Linked DNA regions of Homo sapiens: regions 1, 2, 4, 5, 6 and 7 are each linked to region 3. The links are contacts of gene promoters, found by promoter capture Hi-C in blood cells and fetal thymus (Javierre and others, 2016). All regions are on one chromosome and are shown on one strand. The core of a region is centred on a gene start or on the middle of the fragment in contact, and the rest is flanking DNA. Distances in the headings are between cores, read along the strand shown. Region 1 overlaps DST (dystonin). Region 2 has its middle 14 kb from the start of LINC03001. Region 3 holds the start of ZNF451 (zinc finger protein 451). Region 4 overlaps DST (dystonin). Region 5 overlaps DST (dystonin). Region 6 overlaps BEND6 (BEN domain containing 6). Region 7 overlaps PRIM2 (DNA primase subunit 2).

What was found. The method cuts DNA at HindIII sites, captures the fragments that hold promoters and counts their contacts. A CHiCAGO score of 5 or more calls a contact.
Region 1: a contact is called between a fragment that was not itself captured here and the fragment with the promoter of ZNF451 in region 3, in 12 of 17 cell types (erythroblasts, megakaryocytes, naive CD8 T cells and 9 more). The highest score is 15.0, in erythroblasts.
Region 2: a fragment that was not itself captured here is called in contact with the fragment with the promoter of ZNF451 in region 3 in 1 of 17 cell types (naive CD8 T cells); the score reaches 5.8 in naive CD8 T cells.
Region 4: a contact is called between a fragment that was not itself captured here and the fragment with the promoter of ZNF451 in region 3, in 1 of 17 cell types (erythroblasts). The highest score is 6.5, in erythroblasts.
Region 5: a fragment that was not itself captured here is called in contact with the fragment with the promoter of ZNF451 in region 3 in 1 of 17 cell types (erythroblasts); the score reaches 5.6 in erythroblasts.
Region 6: a contact is called between a fragment that was not itself captured here and the fragment with the promoter of ZNF451 in region 3, in 4 of 17 cell types (erythroblasts, megakaryocytes, fetal thymus and 1 more). The highest score is 7.0, in erythroblasts.
Region 7: a contact is called between a fragment that was not itself captured here and the fragment with the promoter of ZNF451 in region 3, in 3 of 17 cell types (non-activated CD4 T cells, naive CD8 T cells and total CD4 T cells). The highest score is 5.4, in non-activated CD4 T cells.

The regions. Positions count from the first base shown.
Region 1 is chr6:56,903,044-56,906,710 of GRCh38, forward strand. The region is part of intron 2 of DST (dystonin); the gene reads right to left. Among named protein-coding and RNA genes, the nearest start is that of DST, 50 kb to the right of the region's middle. The HindIII fragment of the contact is 4,334 bases long and covers 1-3,667 here.
Region 2 is chr6:57,246,983-57,250,816 of GRCh38, forward strand. It overlaps a transcript of PRIM2 not described here. Among named protein-coding and RNA genes, the nearest start is that of LINC03001, 14 kb to the right of the region's middle. The HindIII fragment of the contact is 1,912 bases long and covers 447-2,358 here.
Region 3 is chr6:57,088,055-57,091,850 of GRCh38, forward strand. ZNF451 (zinc finger protein 451) reads left to right here and starts at 2,134. Exons shown (of 15, transcript NM_001031623.3): 1 at 2,134-2,220; 2 at 2,757-2,840. The coding sequence starts at 2,200. RefSeq lists enhancers at 1,803-1,952, 1,820-2,702 and a silencer at 2,123-2,192. The HindIII fragment of the contact is 8,135 bases long and covers 1-3,796 here.
Region 4 is chr6:56,884,795-56,888,659 of GRCh38, forward strand. All of the region lies in intron 3 of DST (dystonin), which reads right to left. Among named protein-coding and RNA genes, the nearest start is that of DST-AS1, 43 kb to the left of the region's middle. RefSeq lists an enhancer at 2,754-2,923 and a cis regulatory region at 2,839. The HindIII fragment of the contact is 2,019 bases long and covers 418-2,436 here.
Region 5 is chr6:56,922,067-56,925,977 of GRCh38, forward strand. The region is part of intron 2 of DST (dystonin); the gene reads right to left. Among named protein-coding and RNA genes, the nearest start is that of DST, 31 kb to the right of the region's middle. The HindIII fragment of the contact is 2,747 bases long and covers 476-3,222 here.
Region 6 is chr6:56,959,741-56,963,848 of GRCh38, forward strand. The region is part of intron 1 of BEND6 (BEN domain containing 6); the gene reads left to right. Among named protein-coding and RNA genes, the nearest start is that of BEND6, 6.7 kb to the left of the region's middle. The HindIII fragment of the contact is 4,055 bases long and covers 1-3,761 here.
Region 7 is chr6:57,332,813-57,336,725 of GRCh38, forward strand. The region is part of intron 5 of PRIM2 (DNA primase subunit 2); the gene reads left to right. Among named protein-coding and RNA genes, the nearest start is that of PRIM2, 17 kb to the left of the region's middle. The HindIII fragment of the contact is 4,202 bases long and covers 1-3,797 here.

The sequences.
Region 1 (3,667 bases), core at 865-3,364, 190 kb before region 3:
GAGTTTAGTTTGACCACTAGATGGCATTATCTCCCATAGCCCTGCATTCTAATTCAGAAATTTGGTGTTCTGGTAGAATGAACAAAATATTTGATGATATAGTAGCTTCTGTAATAGTGGAGTAAGTTCAGTACATTTCTTTGGTAAGAATGTAGATTCTCTTATGAGTAATAAGCAACCAGATTTTGCTTAACTGGTATTATTACCAATAGTCCTCAGTGGACTACAAATTCTAGAAACACTTAGGGAGAAAAACTGCATAAAACTTCGCTAAAGTAACCAAATGACAGAGATTAAAACATGCTGTCACAGCCATTCTGCAAAACAATAACTCAGTGAATTCACATCCCTGTATCTACCCTAGAGAAATTCTACCAAGAGTGCCCAGTAAGATATTCAATGCAGAATTATTTATGATATAAAAAAATTTTTTTGAGACAGAATCTTGCTCTGTCACCCAGGCTGGAGTGCAGTGGTGTGATCTCAGCTCACTGCAACCTCTGCCTGCTGGGTTCAAGCGATTCTCCTGCCTCAGCCTCCTGAGTAGCTGGGATTACAGGTGTGCACCACCATGCCCGGCTAATTTTTGTATTTTTAGTACAGATGGGGTTTCACCATGTTGGCCAGGCTGGTCTCAAACTCCTGACCTCATGATCTGCCCAGCTCAGCTTCCCAAAGTGCTGGGATTACAGGTGTAAGCCATCGCATGCGGCCAAAAATTCTAAACCACTTAAATCAGTCTTTCCTAAACTTCAGGCATCTTCATTCCACCTTAACATTTTTTCTCCAGATCTGAGCACTGCCTCAGTTATTTCTTTTATACCCAAATTTACTTGTACTATTTTAAAATAACTATTTATAAGCACTGTGGTATACTACACAGACTCTGCAGCCACTATCTGGGTTCTAATACTGCCTTTGTCACTTCCTAGTTGTATGATCTTGAATAGTTACTTAATTATTTCCTCACCTATAAAATAAGGATTAAAATAGTAATTCATAGGGTTGCTGAAAAGAATAAAGTAATGGAGGTAAAGTACTTCAAAGAGTACCTAGCACGTAGTAGTACAGAAACATTCACTATAATTACTATGGATATTACTTGTGTGAATAAAATATAGTCTTGAACACAATAGTGTATTATTCATACTATCTAAAAAAGAAATCAGGTGGAAATAGGAAAATGAGTCACATTGCTGGTGTGCCTTGAAGACAGACACATGTGAGGTACCGATCATTAGGAGAGAGTTCTTTGTTACTCTCCAGTGAGTCAAACTACCTGGGTTCAAATATAATACCAGCTCTATTACTTACTAGGTGTGTGGTCTTGGCTAAATTACTTCTCTGTGCCTTGCTTCTTCTTTAATTTGTCAAATGCATATAACAATACGTCTCTCTTGTAGAGTAATGGGGTGTTTAAATGAGATAATCCACATTACGTACTCAGAACAGTACACAGCATAGAAAAAATACTTAATACATTATTATCATTATTATTACTGCTTCACTTCCTGGATCTGGCAGCAGCAATTTACACATCAGCAGCTCACAGCTATGATTACAAACACTATAAACAACGATGACCGTTCACCTTTATTTCCCTAAATAACTGTAAGGAATTACAGCTCCTTGATTTATGACACTTTCTTCTCCTAAGTAATATTAAAAAAAAGCCATGTCTTTTAACAGAGGAAATTTTAGCTTGAAACAGTAGGTGGTGCTATAAGTTCTTCCAGGTGTTAATAAGAGTTACTCTTTTTCTTTTGAGACCGAGTCTAGCTCTGTCGCTAGGCTGGAGTGCAGTGGCGCAATATCGGCTCACTGCAACCGCCGCCTCCCGGGTTCAAGTGATTCTCCTGCCTCAGCCTCCTGAGTAGCTGGGATTACAAGCATGTGCCACCATGCCCAGCTAATTTTTGTATTTTTAGTAGAGATGGGGTTTCACCACATTGGCCAGTATGGTCTTGATCTCCTGACCTCATGATCTGCCCACCTCGGCCTCCCAAAGTCCTGGGATTACAGGCGTGAGCCACCATGCCCGGCCAATAAGAGTTACTCTTCAACCATTAGGTGATGGACACTTGGAAGCCTGTCAGTAGTGGACTTCTATCATTTTTAGGACACCCCAAATTATCAGCCCCTTTTGGATAATCATTTCCCAAGATGTGCACTCGTGTGTGTGTGTGTGTGTTTGTGTGGTGTGTATGTGCATGTGTGAGGAACATTTATCATGAGATCTGCTCTCTTCAACCTTTAAGTGCACAATACAGTATTGTTAACTCTGGGTACAATGTTGTATAGCAGATCTTTAGAACTCATTCAGCTGGCGTAACGGAAACTTTATACCCATTGAATAGCAACTTCCTATCTCTCCTTCCCTCCAGCCCCTGGCAACTACCATTCTACTCTTTGATTTTATTAATTCAACTAATTTAGATACTTTATATAAATGGAATCATTCAGTATTTGTCTTTCTGTGACTGAGTTATTGCACCTAACATAATGTTCTCCAGGTTCATTCATACTGTTGCATATGCCAGGATTTCCTTCATTTTTTAAGGCTGAGTACTATTCCATTGTATGCATATATTGCGTTTTCTTTTTCTCTACTTTTTTTTTTTTTTAGACAGAGTCTTGCTTTGTCACCCAGGCTGAAGTGCAATGGCACAATCTCGGCTCACTGCAACCTCCACCTCCCGGGCTCAAGCAATTCTCCTGCCTCAGCCTCCCAAGTAGATGGGATTACAGGCACAGGCCACCGCACCCAGCTAATTTTTATATTTTTAGTAGAGATGGGGTTTCACCTTGTTGCCCAGGCTGGTCTTGAACTCCTGACCTCAGGTGATCCACCCATCTCGGCCTTCCAAAGTGCTGGGATTACAGGTGTAAGCCACCACACCCAGCCTATATTGCACTTTCTTTATCCACTCATCTCTCCACGGACATTTAGATTGTTTCCATATCTTGGCTACTGTGAAAAATGCTGCAATGAACATAGGAGCATATATAACTCTTCAAGATCCTGATTCCAACCCCTTTGTACATATAGCCAGAAGTGTGATTGTTGGATCATATGGTAATTCTAGTTTTAACTTTTTGAGAAACCACCATACTGTTTTGCATAGCGGCTACACCAGTTTACATTCCCACCTACAGTGTACAAGGGTTCCAATTTCTCCATAGCCTTCTGATACCAGAGTTAAGAAGAAATTACTAGGCAGATACTCAGGGTACAAAAGTCCTCAGTCAGATTTTCCCTTTAACGAAAAGCAGCCCCAAATCATTTTCTAACAAAGAACAGCCTGTAAAGTCAAGCTGCAGACATAGACAAGCAAGCTGAGAGCTTTCACAGGTGGATGCCTGCAGGAAAGAACTACCTGGGACTAGACGTGTTCAAAATGATGGCTCCATCTTCCCTTCTCTGCCAGCCACGTGTACAGTAAGAAGAAGACAAAATGGTGCTGGCCAAGGGAAGAGTCATTAGCATAATAATATTAGGGTGGGGTAATCAGCCCTCCAGGCCCGCTATGTAGACGTCACACCTGATCAAATCAATCTGTGAGCCCTACAAAAATCAGATACCACCTCCTCAAGCTGGACTATAAAATTCGGGGCATCCACTGCCTGCCAGCCTTTTCCTCTCAGAAGTCCCCTCTCTCTCACTAGA
Region 2 (3,834 bases), core at 153-2,652, 160 kb after region 3:
TAGCTGGGACTACAGGTACCCACCACCATGCCCGGCTAATTTTTTGTATTTTTAGTAGAGACGGGGTTTCACCGTGTTAGCCAGGATGGTCTTGATCTCCTGACCTCGTGATCCGCCCGCCTTGGCCTTCCAAAGTGCTAGGATTACAGGCGTGAGCCACACCGCGCCCGGCCTGGACTTGATTTCTTGATTGCCTGCACCTAGAGTATCCATCGTCTTTCCTACGTGGCTGGGCAACTAGGTTTATCCCTTTCAGGCTAGCCCTCCTTCATTGCCATAACATCTAGGGGTGACATTGACTGAGTTGTATATGATTATTCATCATTTCTCGGGCCTAGATAGATTGTGATGAGTTTTAGGGCTTGTCAAATTTCAAGGCTCTGTTTTTATACCACACATAATTTTGGGAATTTGTAAAGTGCTTAATAATTATCCATCAATGAGTAAGCTTTGAAGGAAGATTAAAAAGTATTATGAAATAAATTACAGAGTTATAGTTGAGGCTTATTCAGAGCAAAATTATTTTTGGTGTATTTTGAGCACTAGGTAAATGTCAAAGGCACCCATGAGAAATAGCAAAAACTGCTGTAATAGTATAAATTCTCATTTATAGCTGCTGCAGAAGAGATGCAAATGTTCTCTATGTGGTTGCTCTGTGTGAGGAGGTGTTTCATGGGACTATCAAAATCCTATCTTAGGTTGTCATTTTGGACACTAAAAATTTTCAAGTAATAATTTAAAGAATCTTGAGGTTTCCTTTTGATATGGCCTAGAAACCTTTGGCAACTAATTTCTGTATGACTCAAAGGATTTCCCCTAGAAGGGAATCCTACTATTTGGGCTTTTAAAAATAAACTGTCATTCTGGATACATTTGTAGCCCTGACTAGTGGGTGAGCATGAGTTTCATTCTGAAATCCAGAAAGAATAATGAGACTAAAAAAAATCAAGACACTGAGTACAGTATATTAGTTAATATAGCATATAATTCAATGTTTGCTTTAGAATTTTGAATTTAGCCAAAAAATAATTGGATCAGGTACTAATGATCAAAATGAGATCACGTGAGGAATTAAGGAGTGTACATAAGATCTTGGATTACATGTTACATAGTCATGTGGCGTAACCAAATGTATCCAAGTGTATTTACATGTGACTTTGAATTATAATGGCAGAGAGTTGGTCAAGGAAGAAGAGTACCCAGGCACCCAGCAAGTTAACACTGGAAACAGATGGTAGGAGCGGTTTCAAATTGAGCCAACTTATTTAAATTACAAAGAGATCTTCAAGTTCATTTTGCTATCCATAGAAAGCAATAAATCACACCTATTAACTTACCTAATTGTCTTTAGCTAGCAATATTAGATTCAGTCTCATACTCCTTTAACTTTCATTTAATAGTGTTATTGGTTGAGGGTGGGTTGTTGTCCAGGTTCTTGGTGTTTCGAACAAATAATTGAACAAAATGCACAAACAAAGCAAGGCAGCAAAAGCAGAGATTCATTTTAAACCAAAGTACACTCTAAAGGGTGGGAGTGGGATTGAGCAACTGGCTTAAGAGCATAGGTAACAGAATTTTCTGGGGTTTAAATACCCTCTAGAGGTTTCCCATTGGTTTATTCTATGCAAATGAAGTAGTGGCCCACTACCAGTCTGATTGGTTGTTGGAGGGGACCAATCAGAATGAAGAGTAGGCCTGCAACCAGTCTGATCCATTGCAGGAGGGGACCAGTCAGAGGTAGTTTCATTTTTCAACTTCCCCTCGGAAAAAGGAGGGGCTGAAAAGGGAGTAGCCTCTGATATCCAGTCAGCATGAATGAGCCTTAGGCTCCCTGCCTCCAGACCCTATTCTCCTGCCTCAATAGCAGTTTGAGATAAAATGCAATGTTTGAAAGCTACCTTACAGTGAGTTAGTGATTTCCGTTTAATATCCTTAATGTATTACTTCAAAATAACAGAATTTATTGAACAACACACAAGTCAATTTGCTTATTAGCACATTGTTCTCTGCAGAACTGCTGGCGACCTCATTGCTCCACTTTGGAAACCACGTTAATATACTGGGGAAACAGATTTAGTTAGCTTTGAACCATGATCACAGGACAATTATGAAAACATGCAAATTTGAAAGGCTAGACTCTGACACCACAAATTTTTAAAATAATTCTCCAAAAACATTTGCATCTAGGATGTGACATGCTTAAGGAGTGAAAATCTAAACTAGCTTTTCCTTTCCTTCCCTGCTTCTGCAAAAAGCATATTTTCCCCTTCACATTTGCTGAGCAATTTTTCTTTATTATGCATATTAGGTCAGTTGTGGAAGAAAGAAGTCTTTTTCTAGTAGGATTACTTGTTTCAAAGCTTAGACTAGCTTAGATTGAGGGTAAGAATAGCATAGAACTGTCCAGTCTGAGTAGGGCCAAGTTTGCCAAGAGGGGTTATAGGTTATCTAATGTGACATAAAGAATACCCAGGTTAGGTTGGGCGTGGTGGCTCATGCCTGTAATCCCAGCACTTTGGGAGGCTGAGGCAGGTGGATCGCTTGAAGTCAGGAGTTCAAGGCCAGCCTGACCAACATGGTGAAACCCCTTCTCTACTAAAAATACAAAAATTAGCCTGGCGTGGTGGTGCGTGCCTGTAATCCCAGCTACTCAGGAGGCTGAGGCAGGAGAATCGCTTGAACCCAAGAGGAGGAGGTTGCAGTGAGCTGAGACCATGCCATTGCACTCCAGCCTGGGTAACAAGAGTGAAACTGCGTCTCACAAACAAACAAACAAAAAAAGAATACCTATGCTAACGTGCTGGTCAAAGGCTTGGAGCTACAAATAGGATGGAGACTGGAGATGGCACACTGAGTTTAAGGACCTAGACCTGAGGGAAGAATTTAAATGGAATATTGTGACTGCAAGGTGGGGTGTTGGCTCTGTCATGAGCCTGACACCCATGGCATTACTACACCCTGCCTGAACTAGTTCTTGGCCTTCCTGCTGTTGGGAGGACCAGTATCTAAATGTGTATCTTCCTGTGTTAGTGCAAGTTCCACTGTGGCTTAGATTGTTCATCTGGTGGTTTGGAGCACACATCCTGAGAGATGAACGAATGGAACAATTGTTAGTTTATTGACCTAGTCCTGTGTGCCTGGACACTGCACCAGACAATTGATATACCTTGACTGGTTTTTCATTCCCTAAGTCTTTAATTATTTGGTTTTACAAATATTGCTATTTCTTCAATATGTGAACACTGATTCAGACAATATGTGTCATTTTTCTAGTGCTTCAGATTTGAAATCTGGGAGTTTATTCATTCACTTACTCAGCAAATATGTATTAGGTATTTACTAGTGTCAGGTACTGTGCTGGGCATTGGGTATAAAAAGTAAAATAAAAGAAACATGACCACTATCCTCATGATACTTATAATCCAAGGGAAAAAATTGACTTCAAATAAACAAATGCCTACATAGATATAGATATATAAGATTACAAATTAAGCAGTAATTTATAATAAATACTGTGAAAGAAAAATCGGGGGGTATGAAAAACATGATGACGTAATTTAGATTGAGGAGTCAAGGAAGACAACTTTCTGAAAGTGACATTTGTGCAGAGACCTCAGAATAGGCAACAGTTAGTTAGCCGTATGAAAACAAGGAGTAAAATAATTGCAGACAGAAGGAAGGGCATGAGTAAATATCCTGAGGTGGGAGATGGCTCAGTGGGTTCAAGATACTGAAAGCAACTGGAACTTGGTGGGCGAGCAAAAAGTGGTAAAAGATGAAGTAGTATTTGACTCTTTCCCGTTTTCACTCATCACATCAAATTACAGGTTGAGC
Region 3 (3,796 bases), core at 884-3,383:
TGAGTTCTCACGAGATCTAGTTGTTAAAAAGTGTGTAGCACCTCCCTGCTTTGCTTTCTTCCTCCTCTGCCCATGTAAAGAGGTTCCTCCTTCCTCTTCACCTTCTGCCACAATTTTAAGTTTCCCAAGGCCTCCCCAGCCATGCTTCCTGTACAGCCTGTGGAACTGTGAGCCAATTAAACCTCTTTCTTTTATAAATTACGCAGTTTCAGGTAGTTCTTTATAGCAGTGCAAGAACGAATACAACATGGTTCTAATTATCCTATATATTTCTTGAATTTTTGAAAAATATGCTTTGAGAAATGTTAGGTAAACATTTTCAGTGGAGATAAAACACTGTAATGTTATCTTTATAGCATACATACCAAAATTTAAACATTACATTCCCCAATTATTAGACATTTAGATATTTTCCAGTTTTTGCTGTTATAAAAAAACCTGTGATGTATCTTCAGGAAAATCCCTGCAACTACAGTTACTGAGTTGTATGGTGTGAGAAGTTTTTGGGTCTAGCCACATACTGCTTGTTTTCCAAGAATTTTACCCATTAACTCCTGCCTCAACTGATTAAATATTAGAGGACACTTTCACCAGCCCACTAGGAAGAGCTTTTAAATACAAGTTTTGCCTACACATTAACGTTTTAAAAATATTTAATTTACACACAGCTTTTGAAGAACTCCCCATGCACGTCTGTCATTCTCAATTGGCTTCCACAAGTCTCAAACTTACTAGGTAGAAAGTAACTAAAGTCATAAAGCACTTGGTGGAAATGCAGGAAATGTCAAATATTAAACAATAATTACTACAGGCTTAGGCAATCAGATGGTAGTTTTGCATACAAACAAAAACAGGAATCTGAGATGTTAAATAATTTGTGTTTTTTTTTTTTTTTTTTTGAGACAGTGTCTTGCTCTGTCACCCAGGCTGCAGTGCAGTGGCATGAATTTGGCTCCCTGCAGCCTGGATCTCAATCTCTCGGCCTCAAGCGATTCTCCTACCTAAACCTCCTGAGTAGCTGGGACTACAGGCAAGGACCACTACGCCTAGCTAATTTTTGTATTTTTTGTAGAGACGAGGTTCCCTCTTATTGCTCAGGCTGGTCTCGAATTCCTGGGTTTAAGTGAACCGCCCGCCTCGGCCTCCCAGAGTGTGAGGACCCGCCTGGCCTAAAATAATGTTATCACTTAATTCTTTTCATAAACTTTATTGACAACGATTGGTGTGTTTTTTTAAAAAACCTTTTTAAATTTTTGGTAAGGTATTACCTGAGAACAGATTAAATGCATAGTTGAATATAAAAGATCTATTTTATAGACTGGTTTATGAGTGTGAACACACAAAAGGTTAAAAGGTCAACCTTACAGCAGTCTATAAATAGATCTCTCATATTCTCTCAGTATATCTGAGAATATTGAAAAAGTGCATTTCAAAATCACTGGCTAGGGTTTAGTGATAGTTAGGTAGACCTCGGTTCCCTTTCCTATTGGGCCCTGGATTTCCCATCCCTATTTTCTTCCTCAGGTGTATTAATACTGGCAGGGCCTGGGAGACTGACGCTAGGGAAGAGGTGTGTAATGTAAGGATACTTCAGATTCTTTCCTGATCCTAGGATTCAGCTAAACCTCCACATAGCCCCTGTCCTCAAAAATGAGTAAATACATAAATTTAAAAATGAAAGGAAAAAAAGAGAAATCCGTTCCCACCACCCACCTTCAGGGCTAAAACAGAAAAATCAATGAGCTGCGCTTCACAACCATACCAAAACCAAACAAATACCAACTCAAACCCTCCTTCACATCCTCCCACATCTTCCCAGTGCTTCGCTATCTCACAGGACCCAGCTGGCCCCTGGCTTCGCCCCACCCACTGCAGCTGGCGTCTTTTAGGCGCATGGTTCTTTTCCTCTCCGGCGAGGGGCGGTCTCGGGGCGGACCCGAACTACAATTCCCAGCATCCTGCGCGGCGCGGGGAAGGAAGCCCGGGAGTGAGAGAAAGCGGCTCCGGGGGCATAGCGGGCCAGTAAGGGCCGCTCCTCCTTTGAAGAGGTTTTGCGTCTCTTTCCGCCGGTGGCGTCGGCGCTCACGCAGGGGCGGGTCCCGGTAGCGCCAGGCGGTGCAGGGCGGGAAGGGGATTCGTGGCGACGGCGGCGGCAGGGACAGCAGGAGCAGTGGTGCTGTCAGCGCGGCCGTCGGAGACATGGGAGACCCGGGGTCGGAGGTGAGTAGTCGAGTGAGGGTCCTGGCGTTCTCAGAGGCGAACCGCGAAGGGTTTGTGTTTTCTGCGGTCTGAGGCCTGGTGCTCCGTCGCAGCCTCGGGGCGATACCTCTTCAGTGTCTTGGGCCGAGCCCAGCTCTGGGGCCTGGTGCGTGTCTGAGCGAGGAACCCGCAGCAACAATGGCCGCCCGGCCCCCCGCACGGGCCCTGGCGTTCGTTGTGGCCGCGGCTGGGCCAGTGGGAGCGACGTTTTAAGGCAGGATTGCCCTTCGGTGTTGAGCTTGCGTTCCTCCTGGAGTAGATAAGGGGAATTGTGAGAGGCTGGTAACTAACGCGTTTTCAGCGTTGGGTCCCTGCAGCTCCGCACACTCTGTGGCAAGAGCCAGAGCTCGAGTTCCGTTCCTAGTCGGGTTTCCGTGAAATTGTGCTCAGTTCGTTTTCCTCAAGAGCTCTCTGTCTTTAATTGTTCCTTTCGGAAACGCTCTCTTCCTACACGAATGTGGCTGAACAGATAAGCATGTTTTGGCTTGTTTTTATAGATAATAGAATCTGTCCCTCCAGCTGGCCCTGAGGCATCTGAGTCAACAACGGATGAAAATGAAGACGACATTCAGTTTGTCAGTGTAAGTAGCAATGATGATTGGGGTTTTCCCAGAGTAAAAGACTATGGTGGGCCATTATGTAATGTTACCTCACCTGGTCATTTAATGTTCATGAGTGTCTAATACATACTAGACACTGGAGCATGGCGCAGGATTGGGAAATTTACCAAAAGAGCTATCTGAGCCACCCCCGTAGCCATCACAAAGAGCACGTCCTAAAGAACGTGCTGTACACTTAATCTCGCCCCCTGCCTTTCATTTAAACTTAAGATAAAAACGCTGGTGTCTAAAACGCTGTTTTGAAATGGAGCAAGAGTAACTTCTAAAGGCGACACGGAGGAAGGAGCTGCTAATGATGAGCAAGGACGTAGAAAACAGGAAGGGTTGTGAGAGCCCAGAATCTTAGCGTTATGGTGCTTCTAACATGAAGGCAAATAGCTTGAAGATTTCTCTAACCTCTGAGATCATCATGTTACGGCATAGTACAGTTGATGCTCATAATGAAGAATCCTACATCACTGGGAACATGCTCTATTTTTCTGAGTTTGTTCCCTTTGAGACAGTAGTTTTCAAGCCTTAGTAAGTATAAACAGGCAGATTCCTGGGCCCCACTGCAGACCTACCGAATCAGAATTTCCAGGCGGGGGCCTAGGAATCTTCATTTTCAGACAAGTGCAGGGACATAAGGATTTCTGAGCACACTTTGTACAGCATGGGTTTCCAAAGCAGAAGAGAGTGTTTTATGATGTATTTTGGGGTGATTTTCTTCCATAATTATTGGAGTTTTAGAAAGGCTTTGCGTAAAGTGGTATCTCAGCTCGCCAGGCAGAAAACGGTTCTGTCCCCAACTCGTCTTTTGGAATGCCGTAGTTAGTTGCAGTTTGGTATTCAAGCTGTAGAATTTTTCGTTGAGTGTCAGATGTGCATTTATGGTGGATGCTGGGAAACCTTGTAAAATTGGTTATTAAACAGTTTCT
Region 4 (3,865 bases), core at 177-2,676, 200 kb before region 3:
CTCGGCTCAATGCAAGCTCCGCCTCCCAGGTTCACACCATTCTCCTGCCTCAGCCTCCCAGGTAGCTGAGACTACAGGCACGTGCCACCACGCCAGGCTAATTTTTTTTGTATATTTAGTAGAGACGGGGTTTCACCATGTTAGCCAGGATGGTCTCGATCTCCTGACCTCATGATCCGCCCACCTCGGCCTCCCAAAGTGCTGGGATTACAGGCGTGAGCTGTGAAGCTCATTCTATATTTTCTGTTTCAGGTCTGGAATCAGCCATTTATCCAACAAGTTTGTGATTGATGGTTTCTATGAGTGTCCTGGCTGCATCCCTTCCACCTGGCCAATGGACTCACATACAGGCTACTGTGAGGGTTGGCTGCTAATGGCTCATAGCCGCCCTCCCCTTCAGGGACTCCCCTAACCTAAAGCTTCCTCACACCCCCAGCCCTAGCAGCCCATAACCAATGACTGACTGAGGTGAAGGACAAAAGGCTTGGCTTCAAGTTGAGACTAACTCTGCGTACAATTCATGTGCCAGGGTTCAATATTCAGAAGTGGAATAGTTGGCTCATATGATAATGCTATTTTTTAATTTTTGAAGACCTACCATACTGTTTTCTATAGCAGTTGAACCATTTTACATTCCCACCAAGAGTGCACAAGGGTATATAAACTTAATTTTAACAACATATTTGCTTAGGTATCTGCTTTGGTTTGAATGTTGTATCCCACCCAAAATTCATGTGTTGAAATTTAATCCCCAATATGACAGTATTAAGAGGAGGGGCTTTTTGGAAGTGATTATGTCATGGGGGCTCACCATCATGAATGGGTTAATGCCACTACAAAAAAGGCTTCAAAGAGCTCCCTTGCTCTCTCTTGCTGTCTTTGCCTTCTGCCTTCCACCAGGTGAGGATGCAGAAACAAGGTGTCATCGCTGAGGAACAACACCTCACCCAATACCAAACCTGCTGATGCCTTGGTCTTGAACTTTCTAGGTTCCAGAAGAGTGAGAAAATAAATTTCTATTATTTATAAATTACCCAGTCTCAGGTATTCTCTTATAGCAACACAGATGGACTAAGACAGTGTCTGATCCCCATCGATCTTAGTAATACTGAGCTGCATGTAGCAAGGGTCAATGTAGATTAGCCAGTGGTATTACCCAGTATCAGAGTTGATTATCTAATTTACCAATTCATAATTGAATAGGGTGTGTGGAGGAGCAGCATGGGCTTGATAGTATTAGACCAAAGTGGACTTGCCAATACACAGGTAGCCTAGGGTGGCCAACACAGATAATGCAGGCTGTGAGCAGACTCTCAAAGATGTAAAGCTACTCCCTGGGAATGAGTCACATTGGGATACTGAATAATTCCTCCAGTCAAATGGAATCTATATTCTTCTCCCTGGAAGTTCTCACCCAATTCTCTAAGCATTGTCAGAGATAAAGACTAAATAAACATAGGATAAACACAGGAGACAACAGACTGCAAGGATGAGAGAGGTCTGCTTCTAACTGACCTTATGAACTTAAGCCAATCACCTACTCACTGAGGTTTAGTTTTGTCAAACTGGATCAATAATATATGCCATACCCAACACACAGGGTGTTTGTTCAGGAGATAATGAATATGAGCAGTCTTTGAAAGTATGAAGTGCTACTTAACTACGAAGTACTACTCCAAAGCTATAATTTTCCTGAAACAGCCAGGCATGGTGGCTCACGCCTGTAATCCCAGCATTTTGGGAGGCCGAGGCGGGCAGATCACCTGAGGTTAGGAGTTCGAGACCACCCTGACCAACATGGAGAAACCCCGTCTCTACTAAAAATACAAAATTAGCTGGGTGTGGTGGCACATGCCTGTAATCCCAGCTGCTCGGGAGGCTGAGGCAGGAGAATTGCTTGAACCCAGGAGGTGGAGTTTGCGGTGAGCCGGAGATCGTGCCATTGCACTCCAGCCTAGGCAATGAGAGTGAAACTCAGTCTCAAAAAAAAAAAAAAAAAAAAAATTCCTGAAACATTACTGTCATTTCTAGAACTGAATTCTCATCTCCCAAAGCACAAACTAAATTTTGTTCAATTTCCATAGATTGATTTTTTTGAAACACAATCATCATCTCAGAACTAAAATAAATAAATAAAGAGAGAGAGACAGAAAATATTGAGAGAAATCAGACCCTTATCACTCACTTGGAGGTGGTTTAGAAGAGTAAAACAAAAATGATGTTTGGAAAAATTAAGAATTAGACTTAGGAGAAAAGTTCAGAGAGATAGAACCATGAGCCTAGAAAAGAAACAATTTATTGATTTTCAAGTACAATTAACTTGCTGCTAATTAGCACTATTTAATGGTAGGAGATTGTATCACTAAAAGTACTGAAGCAGAGAGGAATCTAGCATTACAAAAACTGTTAAGTCAGATGAGCTCTAAGATCCCCTCAAGCTTTAACATTCTTTGATTCACAAAGACTGAGAGTGACACGGTAGCAGGTGGCTATGCTTCATCCTCTCCACAGAGGATACCACAATAAGAAATGGTCTTAAATTGTAAGGCATGGGATTTAGGGCAAAGATCAAGGAGTTGTTTCAGGCAGAGATGGCTGTTAAATTCCAAACAGAATTCTGAGGTAAGCTATGGCTGTGTCCTTTAAAATAAAGGAAGCTATACCCATCTTACCAGAGCAATTTAAGGATTTCTTTGGTTAGAGGTGAAATAATAAACTAGACCATCTTTGAAGGGGCTTTCTTTTCAGTCCTTTGATCCATAGTTGTCCATGAAAATTTTCAAAGTGTAAGTGACTATCTAAATGTTTTCTTTAAGTTTCCTTGGTTTGGAGATTAAAGAATTTAAGGTTTTTTTTATTTAAGACAACAGGTTGTCATCACATACAAGAAAGACATAGAAAGAATGGCAAGAGGTCTTGCTTCAGTCAAAATACTGACCTCAAAAAAGAATCATGAGTTATGAACACATGCTTATTTTTCTCCAAGCAGAACACATGAATCCCTTTACCAAGTTAATCTTGGTTTCATGAGTTGTTTATAGAGACTAAACTGTTCATTCAATACAGTCTACCTACCTTGCACATTCTTGTGCCCCTGTGCATTAATTATTCCAATACCTTACTGTAATTTATTATAGCAAGCCTATAATAAATGAAATCTTTTTTTTTTTTTTTTGAGATGGAGTCTCGCTCTGTTACCAGGCTGGAGTGCAGCAGTGCGATCTCGGCTCACTGCAACCTCTGCCTCCCGGGTTCAAGCGATTCTCCTGCCTCAGCCTCCCAAGTAGCTGAGACTACAGGCACGTGCCACCATGCCCAGCTAAGTTTTGTATTTTTAGTAGAGACGGGTTTCACCATGTTGGCTGGGATGGTCTCAATCTCTTGACCTCGTGATCCGCCCGCCTCAGCCTCCCAGTGTGCTGGGATTACAGACGTGAACCACCACACCTGGCCATAAATGAAATCTTTTATAAAATTCTATTAATTATGAACCTAAAAAGGGAGGTACAGCAATATGTAGCAAAGACTCAGTACATTGAATGGGTGTCATTCAAAAAAATTCTTTTCAGATAATTAGCAAAAGAAATTTGACTTTATTAATCAATTCATTCTCCAGAATTCCAAAGGGGAAAAGGAAACAAATGTTTCCTCTAAGAGCTTTGGATTTGCTAGTTAATTAGCCAAAGTAAGGTATGAGTTGTACAGTTATGCCTTCCACAAAAGGGGAAATATCCTAAGGTTATGCACATAGAGCTGCCTGGTCCTACATATTTGAAAAGGAAAGGGAAAAGGAAGACCATTTTAATAATCTAAGCAGGAAAGGAACACAGAAACACCCTGCTATATTTTCAAGAGATCAAGGATA
Region 5 (3,911 bases), core at 599-3,098, 170 kb before region 3:
TATATAAGTTCCTATTCCCATTGACTATTAAAATCTCTGTTTTCCCATGCACTGATTCAGTTAGCACTCCCATTTCCAGAAGCATACTGCTTATGTTAAAAAGGGCTATGTGTGTACAGTCAAGTTCTATCTAACCTACAACAGGTCATTCCTATATTTTTCAAATTATTCTAAGAAATAGAAAAAGATAAAAATTTTCTCATCAGGCCAGCCCATGGAGCTGCAGCCGCCCTTCGTTCCCTCCTCACCTTCCCTACCAACATCATGGTCCAGGTCCTGCTTTGATTTACTTTGGGCAATGTGGTTGGAATGTAACTGGCTCAGAACTATGGCATACTATACAAAACCTGGCTAAAAAACTTGAAATTAAAAAGGACTTGGATGCCAAGAAGGTTGGAGCCTAGTTCATGAGGCACTGTCTTATAGATACACTGATTCTACTCTCTTGAGGGTCTCCTTTACCATCTGAACCAAAAGCTTTTGTTTGCATCTCTAGCCTCAGTGACCTTCTTCTTTGCTAAACCCTCTGTTTTTTTTGCCTTAGAGCAAGCAAAATGGGGCCCCAATTTGAGAACTACCCTTACATTTCTGGTATTCTCACCTCTTCCATATCCTCCTTCCAGCTGCATGAATGGTTCTAAGACTGGAATTATGGTGCTAGATTAGCAAATATGACTTTTAATGAGTAGTTTCTTCTTTATTGTTTGGAATTTCTACTACCTTTTGTCAAAAGAAAAATGGATGAGCTTTGTACAGCTGGTCAGATACAAATAATGCTGATTTCACAGTTTAGCAATTATAATGGGTGCTTGTTAAACATTACTAAATTTTATTGTTTCAAAGTAATTAAAATTAATATTAAGAAGCTAAAAATAACTCTAGATTCATGTAAAGATCCTAGCACAATCTAAAAACAAAACTTGATAAACTCAAGGAAATAAAGTATACATCAATCTAACATATAAGTTTTAAAGTCCTAAATAAAATCTTGCCAGAACTATCAAAGTGAGTTAAAATAATAATATTCCAAGACTAAATAAAGTTGATTCCAAGAAATCATGGCTGATTCAATAGGGAACTCATTACTGTAATTCACTACAGTTATAAATTAAAGGAGAAATAATTATATCAATAGGTACCTCAAAAATTCCCTTAAATTTTTAAAATTCAATTAAGTTCAGGAGAAATTATTGATTTTAAAATTGAGTAAAATAAGAATAGAAGGAAACTGCCTGAATATTAAAAAGATTACCTACCAGGAAGTTTTATTTGGGACTTGTTGATTTTTTTCCTTAGCTTAGACAGAGACAGTGATCAGAAAGTACTTATTTGGGAATTTTGATTTTTTTCCCTGGATTAGATGGAGAGAGTGGATGCTGGTAAACCGGCTCACTGGCAAAAAAAAAAAAAAAAAAAAAAAAATCCTGATGTAGGGTGTATTAGTCTGAGTTCCCCAGAGAAACAAAACAGATAAGGAACTGGCTCAGGCAATTTGGAGGCTGGTTAATTCAAATCTACAGGATGGGCCAGTGGTTCAGGAGATGCAAGTAAAGCCAATGTTTTAGTCCAAAAGCCATTGAGCAGGAAGATCCAATGTTCCAGTTGAAATCTGAAGGCACTCAAGTGTAAAATTCTCTCTTACTCAGGGGAAGGTCAGTCTTTTTGTTTTATTAAGGCCTTCATCTGATTGGATGAGGCCCACCCACATTATGGAAGGCAGTCTACTCAAATCCACCAGTTTAAATGTTAATCTCATCCAAAAACACCTTCCCTATGGCCAGGCATGGTGGCTCATGCCTGTAATCCCAACACTTTGGGAGGCTGAGGCGGGAGGATCACTTTAGGTCAGGAGTTTGAGACCAGCCAGGCCTACATGGCAAAATCCTATCTCTACTAAAGATACAAAAATTCACAGGGTATGGTGGTACATGCCTGTAGTCACAGCTACTTAGGAGGCTGAGGCAATTGAATCGCTTGAGCCTGGGAGGCGGAGGTTGCAGTGAGCCGAGATCACGCCACTGCTCTCCAGCCCGGGCGATAGAGCAAGCCACCATCTCAAAAAAAAACCCTCCCAGAAACACCTAGAATAAATGTCTGACCAAGTACCTGGGTACCCCATGGCCCAGCCAAGTTGACACATAAAATTAACCATCACATAGTGCTTGCCAAAATTCATGGTATAAACACTCCCATCATGGCCATGATATCACTGAACGCAGAGTTGGAACGATAAACATAAAACTGGCTCTCCCTAGCTGATATAGCTCCCTATCAGATAGCTCTCCCTGGAGAGCCAGTTATATGCATATTGATCCCCAGCTCCAGCTCACCAATGGATGGAGACTGATGTTATATATTTTTTAATATTTATATTTGTGTTTATCTGTATGTATATACATACACACACAGTTCAGCTTTTCTGTGTTCAAAGATAGCCTGAGGACAGGTTTAATATGCTTAAACAAGAAAATCTGAGAGCATGGTGTCTTGCCGATACAAGCAATTATATTGGTTTCTTCTCAGCTTTGGTCATCTTCGATTTCTACTAATATTCTCTTATGGTGAAGGAAATTTTACCAAGGCAATAAATTAAACACAGAAAGAGAGCTAGTTTTTTTTTGGTACTGGAAACATACAAAGCCATCATTTCTAATTTTCAAACATATATGTCACTTATTTTAACTTAATCACAAGAAGCCCATACTTCTTATGATTAAGTTAAAATAAGTGACATATGTGTTTGAATAAGTGACTCTCCATCCACAGTGCAGGAGAGATCTCTCATTTCACCCTATGTTGTGTCCCCTAAAATGTTCCTAAGTAACTTCTCATTCACAGTAAAAATTCAAAATAGGCTTAATTAGAGGCCACTTTCCTGTGCTATGGAAATTTACTTAATCCAGCTTATTCCTTTTATAATTAGAACACCTGTAACAAAGGACTGAAAAGTACATTACCAACAGCATAGTAGGAAAGAGATGGGGAGGAGGGGGACACTGAGTTCTATATGTGGTCATTTGAGTTTAAAGAAAAATCCATATCACAAATGCTTGCTTTAATAAAAGTATTTCTTTAATTTAATAAGATAGGAGGAAGAGGATCAGGACATTCCATCTCATGCCAAACTTTGATGGAACTGGCTAACATCACACTAGTGTTGTTTTTTTTCATAGGGATTAAAAATCATCTATTTGAGCATCTCCATGGTCAGTCCATTTAAAAAGCTTTCTTAGCATAATAATGCTAGGCCAATCAATTATTTTTAAAAAACATACAGTCGAAATAACATTAATAGGGAGCATATGACTTTTCTCACCTAGACCCTATGGAGATTGGCAAAGCCAGCAGTCAGGAGTTAAAGCACACTCTGCCCCTGGCAGAGATGGCAGAAACAGGGAAAAGAGATAGGCACCCACATTGACTTACAGGTAAAAACTGGCCTTCTTATATATCTACATTTTGAGTGGGAAAAGGGATCACAATGTTTATACAGTTCAGAATAATTTTGGTGGCTAAAGCAGTTCCAAAGAATTCTAAATTCCTCTCTTTGTCTTCCGAACACAGCTTGCCGATTAGAATTTTTCCAGCAGCTCAAGATGGGAAAACATTCAAGCTAAACATAATCCCAAGTTCTCTTTATATTTATCCTTTCCAAGTGGAAGCATCATGGAAATAGGTTTTATTTCCCTCAACCCCCTCAATTTAATCCTCTGCTTTCAGGTCATCTTATCTCCCAATGAATCTATTTTTAGCATCCCTTATTAATCCCTTTGATTCCCTTATCTCTACTATCATCATTTCCTGAAGCAGAACATAATTTCCTGATGCAGGAAAAATAAACCAAAATTTCCCGATCCAAAAGCTAAATTACTATAAAGCTACCAGAGGATTTTAGACTTTCATAGTCTTGA
Region 6 (4,108 bases), core at 484-2,983, 130 kb before region 3:
AATATTCCCTGGTAAAGGGCTTTATTTTACCGTAATAAAAACTTTTAAAATAACTTAAAACTACTGAGAAAATATTGCAAATGGAATTATTTCAGATTGTTGTTTTAACATTTTAGCTATTGTAGAGCCTAATTAGGTTTTGTTGTTCTATGGGTTACCACACTGCCGAAGCCATGATAATTCCAGGAGTATGTGAGGGGAGTTCTTTTTGGGTGTGTGAGCATTACAGACTTTTCAAAAAAGTCAGCTGAGTTTGGGAGCTTAAAAACATCAATATAATTGAATTCGTCTACTATATAATGCTTTGCAGACAGTTTTTGGAAAGTAATCATTTATTATCCACAAGCAAATAGAATTTATTTATATAGTTTCCACATTGAGTGTGGGATTAGTCATGCCACAAAATACTGAGTCATTTGGCCAGAAAATTTACTCATAGTTGTATGAACTGCCAATGGAAAATTTGAGAACTGTTCATAAATCAAATTATAAAGCTCTTAGAGTTATAAATCGCTGAGCAATATCGTTCATTATTATTCCGATGGTATAAAATATTTCCACCATTTCTAAGAATGGGCAATTTACAAAGCAAGTTTGAAAGCTGAAGATATTGCCTTCTAGATCCAAGATGAAATTTGCCATATAAGTTATAAACATTCTACATCTGAAACTTCTACACTTCTTAAGTAAAAAGATAAAAAAGTAAGGTAGGAGCTTTATTATTGCATAGCAAATGTTACAAGATGAATAAAATTTTGGTTATTATCTACAAATTAAGTTCTAGGTTGTGATGATAATAAAACTACAGCAACATTGAATAGCTAGAGTTCCCCTATTTCTTACAATAATTCTTTGTCATTTAGGACTTTTGCATTAAATATTTTGTGCTAATAGAGTTGTATGCTAATGCATCAATGCACTCATAGCCTGAAAAAATATTGTCACTAGGAGAGCAGAAGTACTAAATGTACCAAGGAGAGCAGAAAATTGTGATGAGCAACTGATGATTAGTAAAAGATGTATTAATAATATATAGTTCCAGAGATTATTGATACCTCAATGTAAGGACATCCCATGAATCTAGGAAGAGAAAGAAAAGTACATCTTTAAAATGTTTTTGTAGCCACAAATACTTTATGGAGTAAAACAGGGCAACAAACAGCAAACACACAAATTGGAATATAGTAGAGTTTATATTTCAAAGAAGAAAGCCATTAACCTAAAGCCTGTTCTTGCCAGTCCTATCTCTACTGTAGAAGTTCAAACTGGAATTCATGAGTAGGTTTCTAGAGACCTGAAATTACATGTAAAAACTTGTGTCTCATTTTGAGGACATGATCCATACCTTTCATTAGATTCTTAATGAGCTCTCCCCCAACTCCCACAATGAGAATCATCAGAATCATGCAAATCCACATAGGTACTGAGGCTTCTGAACTCGTATAAGTCATTTGATCCATCAACAATGGCAGCACCTGGGTACCCCTGAGACTGTAAGAAGTGTCTTGGGGACTATCCGTCCATGGTTAGCAAAGGAAACTTTCTGTTCTAAACTATAAAAGTTTAGATAAGTCTCCCAAGTGCAGGTGAGTGCTGCCACCCAAAGACTAAATGGAGATGATGTGCTGGGAGTTAATTTGTCCTCTAGCATCTTTAAACATATTGGGAGGGAGACAAATGAGTCACCTAAGGTAACTCCCACTGGGATGTCAGTTGTAACCCTAAGAGGAGAAAAGACTGTGTTAACAATCTAGGACCACTTCCATAGACTTCTGTTATGGAAAGAAGGGATAAATTGATTCCTAAGCTGCCTTCATGCCAATTAACTACCCAATTTATAGCTAGATGTTTGAATGGATAAGCCCATTCCAAGCCAATAGGACTAGTCCTAAAAGGTAGTCTTGGGTTCACAGTCTGCAAAAATTGCTATAGTCTTAAGGCCTAAAAGAGGGACAAAAGGAATTAGTATTAGGTTCCCAGAAACAACTCACAGACATTCTGGTAAATAAAGCCACCACTCTTCCTAAATCCTTCCCCAAGCCCACATTCAACAGTCTACTGTGGAGTCTGCAGACCTGGTAATTGGTGCCCTCAATCCCACCAGGGTGATTCTGCACTCTGGTGGGAAGACTGCCCATCCAGCTGTTCAGCTTCACCTACTCGTTGTTTCTAGCGTCCCACCAGGAGTGGAATGCTATGGTTTAAATTTTTACTTCTGCAAAAACTCATGTAGAAATTAGATTATTGTTGTGACAGTATTGGCAGGTGGGACCTTTGAGAGGTGATTAGACCATGAGGGCTCTGCCCTCATGAATGGATTAATGCTGTTACTTTAGGAGTGGATTTGTTATAAAAGAGCTAGTTCAGCCTCCTCTCTCTCTTTCTCTCTCTCATCTTCATCTTCCACCATGTGATGACACAGCAAGACAGCAAGACACTCACCAGATGCCAGCACCTTGATATTACTGCAAGCCAGTAAATTTCTGTTCATTATGAATTACTAAGCCTGTGGTATTCTGTTTTAACAGCACAAAACAGACCAAGACACCACTCTTGCCATATTTGTGGACCTCAACTCCCTCTCCACCACCATATTTCCAGGATACTAGGTCTCAATGTCACATCATCATGATCACATATTGTTACAGTATGAAGCTGGTTATTTCATTATGTGACTGTTTCACTCCAGTGGGCAAGTCCAGTTTCCTGACGTATCCCGATCTCTCAGTGTGGCTAGTTCTTTTTGCTCCAAGTTCTGTTCTGATCCTCTAGGGTTTGGTGACATAACATTCATGCATTCCACACAGAAACAGACCTTGGATCAATATGATTTCCTGGGTGCCTCAGACCCCCCTCTGGGCCTAGTGGGCACTGTTCTTTGCACACTTTCAGTCTGTGGTCATTTGTAATGAGGCAGGAATCTACTTAGAGAAGATATTGCAGGATTGTAGTTAATGTATCAGACTTCCTGGTGGTTTGCCATCTGGTGAGCTGTTAAAAGTCTAGGTCTTAGTGCCTAGATTAAGGGGCACCAACAGCACCCTGGGAGTTGATTGGTATGATCATTATTCACCTGTGCCACTTCCCCAGAAGGCATGGAATAACATGCACTGGTCATCCTCATTACTGAATGGCTACCTTGATGTGGACCACCTAGTTATCTGTAGCAACAGCTAGCACTTATTGAGTATCTACTCTCTGCTAAATGCTTTACGTGCATTTACTCATTCAATCCTCACAGCAGCCCTGAGTAGGTACTACTCTTATTCCTATTTTATGGATGGGAATTCCAGGGCTTAGAGATGTAAGGAATTGCCTAAAGACCACACACCTAACAAGCGGCATCAAAATTCTTCAGCACTTCACAAACCACACAAACCATTCCTGTTGCATGTTTTCCATTTGCACTGCCTCCCTGCTTCATTTGCACTGCAGCTCTTCCCCTAAAGGAAATCCTCTCAGTTGGAGCTTGCTGAGCAGCTACTCTTCCTCTCTTCTGACTCTCCTTAGGCTACCCCTACCCAGATTAATGAAGGCCAACCCGACACTCCAGCAGAACGTCAGATGTTTCCTTGTACACAAGAGATGCAGTCCTCTCCTTTAGCCTGTGAGGAATTTACCTAGGCCACACCTACTAATCCAGCAATTTCACAAGACTCTTTGTATTAAAAAATTATAGTTTCACCCTTACCATTTCATTGCCATGTCTCCATCATTATCGCTTGGGTAAATTTGACCCAGCATCTCCAGAAAACTGAAGAAGCTTAGCGGGGCCAAGCTGACTCCTACTTTGGTAAAACGGCTCCATGGGAGACCACCTGGCTGTCCTTTATAAAAGAGAAAGCTATAATAATTTTTTCTTTATATTTTTACAAAAGATTGAGGTTTGTCTAATATAGACTCATAGGCATCAAGGTTAATTAGCTATGTTTATTGAAGCCCTCCCCTGTCCTCAATGCTATAAACTCCCCTCCTACTCTCACATGTTTGACCTAAACTTGTATGGGGGTAATCTGGTTCAGTTTGCTTCAATTAATAATAAAATATTACTATTAATAAATTAATATAATTTATTACTATTAATAAATTAATATAATATAACTAATAC
Region 7 (3,913 bases), core at 447-2,946, 240 kb after region 3:
TTTTTATTCATTTTGGAAGTCTCTGACTTTTGCATGGATTGTTTTATCCATTTATGTTTAATTACTGATAACTTAGTATTTCCGTGTGCCATCTATGTGTTTCCTATGTCTTAAGGTTTTTTTGTTTCTGTATTTCTCCATTACTGCCTTCTTTGTATTAAAATGGTATTTTCTAGTGTACCATTTTAATTCCTTTGCTGTTTATTTTACTGTATTTTTTGAGTTATTTTCTTCGTGGTTTCCCTTAGAATTACAATTATATTTTATTTTAAAACAATCTAGTTGGGATTAGCATTAAGTTAATTTCAATAGTGTACAAACTTTTGTTCCCATATGCTCTGTTCCCTACTCCCTGCCATTGTCCTAGTATGGTCATACAAATTATTTCTTAATATATCAACAGAGGTAAACTTTTTGTGTTCTAGATTGTATGAAAAATGTATTTATAATACTGTCAAACTTGAGTGTAGTTTGCCTTGGTATACAGGCAAATACCTGTATGTTGGGAATATTTTTTATTGGCATTTTGGAGATATTGCTTGCTGAACCTTTTAGCTTCTAGAGTTGCTCTTGAGAAGCCTGATTTCATTTTGACTTCTTATTCTTTGCATGTAACTTTGTGTCCTTTGCCAGTCCCACTCTCTTGTGTAGTGAACTTTCATGGCGATGTCTGCACCTTTTTTCACTTTTTTGGGTTGGGAACTTGGTGGACTCTTTTAATCTGAAGATTTGATTCTTCAGTTAGAAAATTTCTTTTTATTATTGCTTTAATAATTTCTTCTATGTTCTCTTTTTATAACCTCTTGTTAGGTGGAATTTATATTTTCTGGATTGGTACTCTTATTTTCTTTTCGGTCCTGACATTCAATCTTTGTGTTTTTATTTTATTTTCTGAAAACTTTCATCAACTGTTTTCTCAATTTTCTATTTATTTATTTTTCCCTCCTGTGTTTAATTTTTTTCTTTTAAATTTACTTAAAAATTGAATATAAAATTGTATGTATTCACTGTAAAATATAATGTTTTGAAGGGTACATTGTGGAATGATTACATCTAGCTAATTAACAAATGTATTACATCAACAGTTATTTTTGTGGTGAAAATACTTAATATCCACTCACTTAGCATTTTTCATCAATACAGTTTGTTGTCATTAACTGTAGACATCATGTTGTACAATGGGTCTCTTGAACTTAATACTCTTAACTGTGATTATGCATCCTTTAACAGACATCTCCCTAACCTCTTTTCCTCCCTAACCACCCCAGCTACTGGTAATCACTATTTTACCCTCTATTTCTATGAGATCAACTTTTTTAGATTCCACATATGAGTGAGATCATGACATATTTGTCTTTCTGTGCCTGGCTTTATTTACTTAACGTAATATCCCTGTTTCATTCATGGTGTTGCAAGTGGCAGGATTTTCATTTTTTTTTATGACTCAATATTATTCCGTTATGTATATATATTGCATTTAAAAAAATCCATGTATCTATCGGTGGACACTTAGGTTGATTCCGTATCTTGGCTATTGTGAATAGTGCTGCAGTAAATATGGGTGTGCAGATGTCTTCAGCATACTGATTTCATTTCCTTCAGATACATACCCAGTAATAGATTTTGCTGGAACATATGGTGGTTCTATTTTTAATTTTTTGAGGAACTTTCATATTGTTTTTCATTTCTACAAAAAATAAAAAATAGCTGGGTGTAGTGGTGCACACCTGTAATCCAGCTACTTGGGAGGCTGAGGTGGGATGATTACTTGAGCCCAGGTGTTGGAGGCTACAGTGGACTATGATCTGTAGCCCACCCTGGGCTACAGAACAAGACCCTGTCTCTCAAAGAAATAAGAGGATAATAACGATTTTCACCTCACAGATTAGTGAGGTTTAAATGAGGTAGTGCGTATAGAGTGCTTAGTACTGTGCATGGAATATATGCTGGGTAGTAATATTACGGAGGATACAGAAGCAGCATATGCCTGTATTGTGAAGAAGTTCGGAGTCAATTAGATTGATATGTTTTTACTGCAATTAAAAAAATGGTTTTGGAATAGGAACAGCTCCGGTCTACAGCTCCCAGCGTGAGCGACACAGAAGATGGGTGATTTCTGCATTTCCATCTGAGGTACCGGGTTCATCTCACTAGGGAGTGCCAGACAGTGGGCGCAGGTCAGTGGGTGCGCGCACCGTGCACGAGCCGAAGCAGGGCGAGGCATTGCCTCACTCGGGAAGTGCAAGGGGTCAGGGAGTTCCCTTTCCTAGTCAAAGAAAGGGGTGACAGATGGCACCTGGAAAATCGGGTCACTCCCACCCGAATACTGTGCTTTTCCGACAGGCTTAAAAAACGGCGCACCAGGAGATTATATCCCGCACCTGGCTCGGAGGGTCCTACGCCCACGGAGTCTCGCTGATTGCTAGCACAGCAGTCTGAGATCAAACTGCAAGGCAGCAGCGAGGCTGGGGGAGGGGCGCCCGCCATTGCCCAGGCTTGCTTAGGTAAACAAAGCAGCCAGGAAGCTGGAACTGGGTGGAGCCCACCACAGCTCAAGGAGGCCTGCCTGCCTCTGTAGGCTCCACCTCTGGGGGCAGGGCACAGACAAACAGAAAGACAGCAGTAACCTCTGCAGACTTAAACGTCCCTGTCTGACAGCTTTGAAGAGAGCAGTGGTTCTCCCAGCACCCAGCTGGAGATCTGAGAATGGGCAGACTGCCTCCTCAAGTGGGTCCCTGACCCCTGACCCCCGAGCAGCCTAACTGGGAGGCACCCCCCAGCAGGGGCAGACTGACACCTCACATGGCCAGGTACTCCAACAGACCTGCAGCTGAGGGTCCTGTCTGTTAGAAGGAAAACTAACAAACAGAAAGGACAAACACACCAAAAACCCATCTGTACACCATCATCAAAGACCAAAAGTAGATAAAACCACAAAGATGGGGAAAAAACAGAACAGAAAAACTGGAAACTCTGAAAAGCAGAGCGCCTCTCCTCCTCCAAAGGAACGCAGTTCCTCACCAGCAACGGAACAAAGCTGGACGGAGAATGACTTTGACGAGCTGAGAGAAGAAGGCTTCAGATGATCAAATTACTCCGAGCTACGGGAGGACATTCAAACCAAAGGCAAAGAAGTGGAAAACTTTGAAAAAAATTTAGAAGAATGTATAACTAGAATAACCAATACAGAGAAGTGCTTAAAGGAGCTGATGGAGCTGAAAACCAAGGCTCGAGAACTACGTGAAGAATGCAGAAGCCTCAGGAGCCGATGCGATCAACTGGAAGAAAAGATATCAGCAATGGAAGATGAAATGAATGAAATGAAGCGAGAAGGGAAGTTTAGAGAAAAAAGAATAAAAAGAAATGAGCAAAGCCTCCAAGAAATATGGGACTATGTGAAAAGACCAAATCTGCGTCTGATTGGTGTACCTGAAAGTGACGGGGAGAATGGAACCAAGTTGGAAAACACTCTGCAGGATATTATCCAGGAGAACTTCCCCAATCTAGCAAGGCAGGCCAACATTCAGATTCAGGAAATACAGAGAACGCCACAAAGATACTCCTCGAGAAGAGCAACTGCAAGACACATAGTTGTCAGATTCACCAAAGTTGAAATGAAGGAAACAATGTTAAGGGCAGCCAGAGAGAAAGGTTGGGTTACCCTCAAAGGGAAGCCCATCAGACTAACAGTGGATCTCTCGGCACAAACTCTCCAAGCCAGAAGAGAGTGGGGGCCAATATTCAACATTCTTAAAGAAAAGAATTTTCAACCCAGAATTTCATATCCAGCCAAACTAAGCTTCATAAGTGAAGGAGAAATAAAATCCTTTACAGACAAGCAAATGCTGAGAGATTTTGTCAACACCAGGCCTGCCCTAAAAGAGCTCCTGAAGGAAGTGCTAAACATGGAAAG